Linked DNA regions of Homo sapiens: region 1 is linked to region 2. The links are contacts of gene promoters, found by promoter capture Hi-C in human tissues and cell types (Jung and others, 2019). All regions are on one chromosome and are shown on one strand. Each heading gives the region's core, a stretch centred on a gene start or on the middle of the fragment in contact. The rest is flanking DNA. Distances are from core to core; before and after follow the strand shown.

Region 1 (3,850 bases), core at 600-3,099, 1.0 Mb after region 2:
GGAGATTTCCTACAGCTGTTTCTTCTACAGCCTGTGACATCAAACTAAAATTCAGTCACAACAAAGGGCCAAAGCCCTTGACCACAGCTCTTAACTAGTTTGACTCAGCCTAGGTTAGGTAAAGCCTAGACCATCTAAAGGACTCTGACCCTTTAGACTGTCAGTTATAAATAGCTATCAATAGATGTGGGGACTAAAATGTGAAAGGTAAATACCTACAAACCTACAGTGAACACTGTACGTTTAAGTTTTGTTTGCTTGTTTCACATTTGCTCTAGCTCTAGTTTTTGTACCAACTATGTAAAGGCTGATTTCCTACTTTCTTTTTATCAAATGAATGTGTTATTGACATTCCCTTACCAGGTTCATTGGACATGGCTGACCAGGTGAGGTACATAGTGTAGAGGGTGATGAGGGAGGACTGCAAGAGGCCGGAGCGAGGCTGGTGTTCCTATGGAATCAAAAGGAAAACAGTGGCACAGGGACTGCCAAGGGCTGACTTTCCAAAATGCAGTGCACTTCTCTGGAGTTAATTCAACTATCAGTAACTGAGAACTTTCGGATTCTTCTTGAGAGTTGAAAGGTGACAAGTAACCTTCTGTTCAGTTAGCTCGCAAAAGAACCCAGAAAGACCAAGCAAGTACTACTGGTTCTCAACGCATTTCACAATCCTAGAAATTCCTGTGCATCACACAAGGACTTTGATTTTCCACTCCCTTGGTGTAGTGAAAAGATCTAAGATCAGCTCTGCAACTAATTAGTAGCTGGGAGAGGCCTATCACTTCTTTGAGACTTCTGTTTTCTCACTTTTAAAAGGAAAGGTGATGTCTAGATAGAATTTTCATATTTCATATCTATAACTCCATGAATTTTTTTAAACGGTTTTTTTTTCTTTTTTTTCTGAGACGGAGTCTCGCTTTTGTCACCCCGGCTGGAGTGCAGTGGTGCGATCTCAGCTCACTGCAACCTCCTCCTGGGTTCAAATTTCTCCTTGCCTCAGCCTCCTGAGTAGCTGGGATTACAGTGCCCGCCACCACACCCGGCTAATTTTTGTACTTTTAGTAGAGATGGGGTTTCGTCATGTTGGCCAAGCTGGTCTTGAACTCCTGACCTCAGGTGATCTGCCCGCCTTGGCCTCCCAAAGTGCTGGGATTACAGGCATGAGCCATCACGCCAAGCTGGAGTTTCGCTCTTATTGCCCAGGCTGGAGTGCAATGGCGCAATCTCAGCTCACTGCTACCTCCGCCTCCAGGGTTCAGGCTATTCTCCTGCCCCTCAGCCTGCCAAGTAGCTGGGATTACAGGTGTGCGCCCCCACGCCTAGCTAATTTTGTATTTTTAGTAGAGATGACGTTTCACCATGTTGGTCAGGCTGGTCTTGAACTCCTGACCTCAAGTGATCCACCCGCCTTGGCCTCCCAAAGTGCTGGGATTACAGGCGTTAAGCCACCACACCCAGCCTAAACTATGGTATTTAGAACTCAAGAGCATGAGTTTTGTTTTGAAATATTAAAATCAATTATTTTTCAGTTTAATTCCCCTAAAATATCTTGGCTAATGACTCATAAGAATCATTCCCAGCCACATGCGGTGGCTCACAACTGTAAAACCAGCACTTTGGGAGGCTGAGATGGGTGGATCACCTGAGGTCAGGAGTTCGAGACCAGCCTTGCCAACATGGTGAAACCCCGTCTCAACTAAAAATACAAAAATTAGCCGGGCATGGTGGCAGGCGCCTGGCCAAGGCTGGAGAATCACTGGAACCCAGGAGGTGGAGGTTGTAGTGAGCTGAGATTGCACCATCGCACTCCAGCCTAGGGGACAAGAGTGAGACTTTGTCTCAAAAAAAAAAAAAAAAAAAGACTCATTCCCGGCCAGGCGTGGTGGCTCACGCCTGTAATCCCAGCACCTTGGGAGGCCGAGGCGGGTGGATCACGAGGTCAAGAGTTCAGCCTGGCCAAGATGGTGAAACCCTATCTCTACCAAAAATACAAAAACTGGCCAGGCCCGGTGGTGGCTGCCTGTGATCCCAGCTACTCGGGAGGCTGAGGCAGAGAACTGCTTGAACCCAGGAGGCAGAGGTTGCAGTGAGCCGAGATTGTGCCACTGCACTCCAGCCTGGTTGACAGAGCGAGACTCCATCTCAAAAAAAAAAAAAAAAAAAAAAAAAAGCACTATAAATTTTCAAGTTACCTGGGTTTTTTTTTAATGATAGTGAAATTCATTTAATTATGATATAGGCATGAAATAGAATTATGAAGACTTTATAATATGGAAAAATGTTCAAGTGGATAAACTTAGACATAAATTCATAAGAAAGGGTACCTAGATTTTAAGCTTAGAATTAAAAACCTTTCACAGGAGAAAGAAGTAGTAAACAATCATACCTGAATTTTTGGGTGGATCGATATAATAGAAGCCACAACGCAAAGGATCAGGTTAATACTGATGAAGAACTTGTTTTCTGTGCAGCCATCTGGTTTGGTGTAATATGTATAGAGCAGCCCGACACAGATGATTGACAGGATATAAAAGGCGCTTGTGAAAGACAGTAAAGCTGGAGAAAGGGAAACCAATATGAATGACCACAACTATAATAAACTAATAATGAAGGCCAATTTTCTTCCACTCCATATAAAAATGAGGAGACATTATGTCACTTTTCTGGGGTAATTTACAGTAAAATTACAGAGGTCTCAAGGTTAAAGTATCAAGATTGTATTCAATTGGCTTGATGTTAAATTCCAAAATCCACCAAGCAACTGAATTCACTTCCTGAATTACCTGATTTGATTTCATGGGTTGATTACCAGACATTTGATCATTCCAGCTAGAGTTTACTGCTACCTATATGTTAATTAATGTGTATTGTGAGCTTTTCTTAGGAACCTAAATGATTCCTTTACCCTCAAAATGACCCAGTTCACAGCAAGCTCCATGCCAGGATGGTGTTAGAGGAAAACAGAATACACACACTGGTATCTTTTTATGACAGTTTTTTCCTCTGCAGCCATTGGCTATCTAAATCCATTTCCCATCACAAACAATAAGACTGTCCCTGAACTGGAAAAGTGGCTCATTTGCTATTTTTTAATATCTAAAGTAATGGTCTTTTCCATTCACACTAAAAATCAACAATTAGCTGTGTTGGCTGAACATGGTGGCTCATGCCTGTAATCCCAGCACTTTGGGAGGCCAAGGTGGCTGGATTGCTTGAGCCTGAGTTCCAGACCAGCCCAGGCAACATGGCCAAACCCTGTCTCTACAAAAAATACAAAAATCAGCCAGGCATGGTGGCATAAGGCTGTAGCCCCAGCTACTTGGGAAGCTGAGGCAGGGGGATTGCTTGAGCCCAAGACATAGAGGTTGCAGTGAGCCGAGATGGTGCCACTGCACTCCAGCCTGGACAACAGAACAAAACCCCATCTCAAACAACAAACAAAACAATTAGCTGTGTAGCTCTGAAAATTAGAAAACATGAAACAGCACATACAGTACACTCAGACCAACTGCAAGAATGATGAGCTCAGCTAACTTGTATTCAAGTCAAAGCCCAGATTAAGAAAACTAGTTTCTACTTATCTCAATGAATTTTGCATGTCTAAAATTAAATGATGTACATTAAGTTACTAGCACACTTAATGTTTTCACCTCTGAATATACAAGATTTTTCTACACTTAGTTACTGTAAAGTATGACCAATTTGCAACTCAATAAATTCTTCTAGAGTTGTATGATCCAAAATGAATTAAAGAAAATAACAGCCGGGTGTGGTGGCTCACGCCTGCAATCCTAACACTTTGGGAGGGCAAGGCAGGTGGATCGATTGAGTCCAGGAGTTCCGGCAACAT
Region 2 (4,187 bases), core at 500-2,999:
CAAGGTAACATCTTCACAGGTTTCAGGGATTAGGATTAGGATTAGGACATAGACATCTTTAGGGGGAACCCTTATTCTGCCTACCGAGGTGAAGAGGTGAAGCCGGCTGGGCTTCTGGGTTGGGTGGGGACTTGGAGAACTTTCCCGTCTAGCTAAAGGATTGAAAACACACCAATCAGTGCTCTCTGTCTAGCTAAAGGTTTGTAAACACACCAATCAGCACTCTGTAAAAACGGACCAATCAACATTCTGTAAAATGGACCAATCAGCAGGATGTAGGCAGGGCCAAATAAGGGACTAAAAACTGGCGGTCCAGCCAGCAGTGGCAACCCGCTCGGGTCCCCTTCCACGCTGCGGAAGCTTTGTTCTTTCCTTCAGGCAGGTTGGAGTCTTGCTTTGTCACCCAGGCTGGAGTGCAGTGGCATGATCATAGCTCACTGCAGCCTCGAACACCTGGGCTCAAGAGATCCTCTTGCCTCAGCTTCCCAAGGTGTGGGGATTACAGACTCGTATTTTTTATTTATCTAACTTTAAGCACGGCCTCTACCTCCCCCAGTCGTGACAAACAACGTTTCCCTCTAGACTTCCAAATAGCTCCAGGAGGACAAAACCCCCCTTTTTCAACCCGAAGCTTAAGGATATTGAGGTTGCACCACTCAAAACAGAGCAGGAATACATAAATATCTAAAGAGCTGGTGTTATCTCAGTGATATCCCTTTTTTTTTTTTTTTTTTTTTTTAGCTTCGGCGGTGACACCTACTCTCCTGGTCTTCTCCCTACCTCGCTAGTCACTCCTCCCAGTCTCCTTTCCTGCGCTTAAATTTCAGAGTACCCCAGGCGTTGGCCTGGGTCTTCCGCTCTCCACTTAAACTTACTCCTTTGAGGTTTTCAATCTGGTTCTACAGCTTTAAATAGCATCTCCATTGATAAACTCACAAAATAAGGCACTTTCAAGTCAGTGGAGGAAATGATAGTATTGGGACAAAGGACTTTCCATACACGGGAGAAAAAAAATCGTTCGTCGCTGTGGGAGGGCTGCCGGGTCTCGTCCACGCTCCCTTTTGAGCACCTACAGTGAGCGTAGGATTGCCACGGATAGCCCAATCCACAAGTGAGTCAAGCTGCCAGGGCTCCAAGAAAGACCCATGGAGGGAGAGGGGAACGTCCGGGGAGGCGAAGGCTGCGAGTGAGACCCGGAGAGGCTGATGTCGGCGGGTCTGCGCGCTCGCAACGCGACCTCCGCCCGGTCAGCAAGACCTCGGCGCGCGATCCTCAGATTCTGCGAAACAAGACAAGCGACTGGGTCCGAGACCGCGGTCCCCATCAAAACGAGCATCAACCAATCGCTGGGAGAAATCCGCAGCCTCGTTTTAAGCCACCAAGCAGAGACCGCGGCGACCTATTATGATAACCTCGAGAACCAATGAAAAACGGGGATTCGCTCAGCCCGCCTCCCGAGCTTCAACCCCGAAGAGATCGCGCACAGTTTTATAAAAGGTACAAATTAGAAAGCAGTTCTGCGGCTGGATTAGAGACATTGTGTTTTCAAAGACGGTGGGGAGGGCTAGAGAAAAATCCTAGAAGCTAGCAAGACCGCACTACACCGAAACGTCGCGGGCAACGGACTCGCCAGTCACCATCTAGCCCAGGGACGACGCGGGACGGACGTGCCGCTGCGCGCTGACATCACGCTCCAGGCCCCGCCCCACCGGCCGCCCATATAGCGAAAGCCTGGCGCGCGCGCGCGCCATTGTGTGGCTGGACTCGGCCGCCCCTGTGGTGTGAGGCGCGTGTTCGGGCTCTTGCCGTCCCCGCACCCGCACCGCGGTTACTGGCTTGCGGTCCGCCGTTCGACAACCAGCCCTTGGGTCCCCGCCCGCCACGGACATGCCGCGCGTCTACATAGGACGCCTGAGCTACAACGTCCGGGAGAAGGACATCCAGCGCTTTTTCAGTGGCTATGGCCGCCTCCTCGAAGTAGACCTCAAAAATGGGTGAGTCGGGCCTGGGCGCCCGCGCCCAGCGTCCCAGGCCTGGTGGCGGCGGGAACTCTCCAAGGAAAGAAGCGGCCAAGGCCGCGGCGCCGCGTGGCAGGGCCTCAAAGATGGCGACGGCGCGGCGTCGCGGGGGCGCGCGGTGGGGTACGGGCGCGCGCACGTGCGCGTCCTGGCTAACGACTCCCCCGCGGTTGTCCGGCCCTCGCACCGCCCCTAGGTACGGCTTCGTGGAGTTCGAGGACTCCCGCGACGCCGACGACGCCGTTTACGAGCTGAACGGCAAGGAGCTCTGCGGCGAGCGCGTGATCGTAGAGCACGCCCGGGGCCCGCGTCGCGATCGCGACGGCTACAGCTACGGAAGCCGCAGTGAGTCCCACCCCCGCGCGCTCCGCGCCCTTGGGGACCCTGGGGGCGGGGGTGGGTGGGGTGGGGCCTCCCAGCCCGGGCAGGCGCGAGGGCCGGGGGTCGTTTGACTTGGGTGTCCCCGAGCCCCGCTGCCTTCACGTCTGCCCGGGGCAGCCATGGGACGCCGGAGCGCGGGGATTGGGTTTGGGTGTTTGGTTTTGTTTATTTGCCAAGTTGGGAGGTGGGTGGCTTCTTCTGGCCCCTTGTCAGCACTGTCACGGGTTCTTCCCACAGAGGAAGTAAGGGGTGGCTGTATTTGTTGTATTCTCCTTACTTACCTATCAGTGCATTAGTTAGAGGTTCGGGGGCAGGCTCGGGTGGAGGTGGGGTAGGGGGCGCGGGGGACGGGGAAGGGGAGGAGCATAAAGTATAGGTCTTAAAGCTATGGAACTTGATGGGGGCCAAAGAATGTACTATTTTTAAGTAATGTGGTATTGTACCACAAAGTAGATCTAAATAAGCTTTATGCTGTATTTGAACTAATTGGGGCATGTTATTGGGAGGAGGTTGGGGGGATTTTTGGTTATGTTAAATGTTTGATGTTTAAATTGTTGCATGTTGAATTCAAACTTTTTAACAAGTCCTTGATGTTTCAATTTGAAAGTGACCAATGGGGCTGAGGCTGTGTCCACTGAGGCTAAGATGACTGCCTTTCCTGATTGGCCTTGGCTTTTCCATACATTGTGTGACCCTTGCCCTATGACCCTTTGGCTGACCTTACCGGAAGCCATGACGACAGCAGCCTTTTGCCATTAGACGCAGGGTGATGGTGAGGATTCCAAGGGTTAGACAAAACTGGTTAATCTGAACTAGGTGACTGTTACCTTGCGTGTTTTGTGGCCAAACCACCACCAAAAACCTCACACTGTGATGTAAGTACTTAGTGTAAAACTAGTAAACATTTTTGTAAAATGTAGAAATGCATGTAATCAGTTAAGTTTTATATTTTACAATGTTCTGTAAAATAAAACTTAGCGAGGTAAATCGAATAAAGGAGCAGTCACTCTCTAACAGATTGTAGGAGAGGTTTAGTTGGATTTAGTCTATTTGACTTGCCCTTAATTTAATTTTATGGCAAATCACAAATGTGTCGAAGGTTTAGCAATATAATAGCAAAGTCCTACTCCAGTAAATAAAAGTTGATATGTTTGTACTAACTTTCAAAGACATTATGCGTTTTTATCATTACAAGGCATCTAATTGTTCCCTTCATGTGATAAAGGTGGTGGAGGTGGATACAGCAGTCGGAGAACATCTGGCAGAGACAAATACGGACCACCTGTTCGTACAGAATACAGGCTTATTGTAGAAAATCTTTCTAGTCGGTGCAGTTGGCAAGATTTAAAGGTATGTTTTGTAATTCAAGATAGAAATGATATGACTAATGCTTTAAAGTAAACTCCTTTTATATTCTTATTTCTGGGAATTTATTATGGTATATAGATGTTTTAAGATTTCCGAGTCTGACCAATCTTGTCTTTCAGGATTTTATGCGACAAGCAGGTGAAGTAACCTATGCGGATGCCCACAAGGAACGAACAAATGAGGGTGTAATTGAGTTTCGCTCCTACTCTGACATGAAGCGTGCTTTGGACAAACTGGATGGCACAGAAATAAATGGCAGAAATATTAGGCTTATTGAAGATAAGCCACGCACAAGCCATAGGCGATCTTACTCTGGAAGCAGATCCAGGTAACTTGTTGAAGGACACTGTGGGAAGGAAACAATATTTGCCAATAAAAAGGGAGTAATTGAGTGATGTCAATTGTTGCCTACTTGAATTA

What was found. The method cuts DNA at HindIII sites, captures the fragments that hold promoters and counts their contacts. A contact is called where the count stands out against the background at its distance.
Region 1: a contact is called between a fragment that was not itself captured here and the fragment with the promoter of SRSF6 in region 2, in 1 of the 25 tissues and cell types used here (hippocampus).

The regions. Positions count from the first base shown.
Region 1 is chr20:44,504,441-44,508,290 of GRCh38, forward strand. SERINC3 (serine incorporator 3) reads right to left here. Exons shown (of 10, transcript NM_006811.4): 6 at 2,387-2,556; 7 at 361-451. Among named protein-coding and RNA genes, the nearest start is that of SERINC3, 16 kb to the right of the region's middle. The HindIII fragment of the contact is 4,386 bases long and covers 1-3,850 here.
Region 2 is chr20:43,456,147-43,460,333 of GRCh38, forward strand. SRSF6 (serine and arginine rich splicing factor 6) reads left to right here and starts at 1,750. Exons shown (of 6, transcript NM_006275.6): 1 at 1,750-1,994; 2 at 2,215-2,363; 3 at 3,625-3,749; 4 at 3,887-4,095. The coding sequence starts at 1,888. RefSeq lists enhancers at 1,087-1,406, 1,467-1,626, 1,548-2,495, 1,927-2,026 and silencers at 2,167-2,266, 2,277-2,536. The HindIII fragment of the contact is 8,319 bases long and covers 1-4,114 here.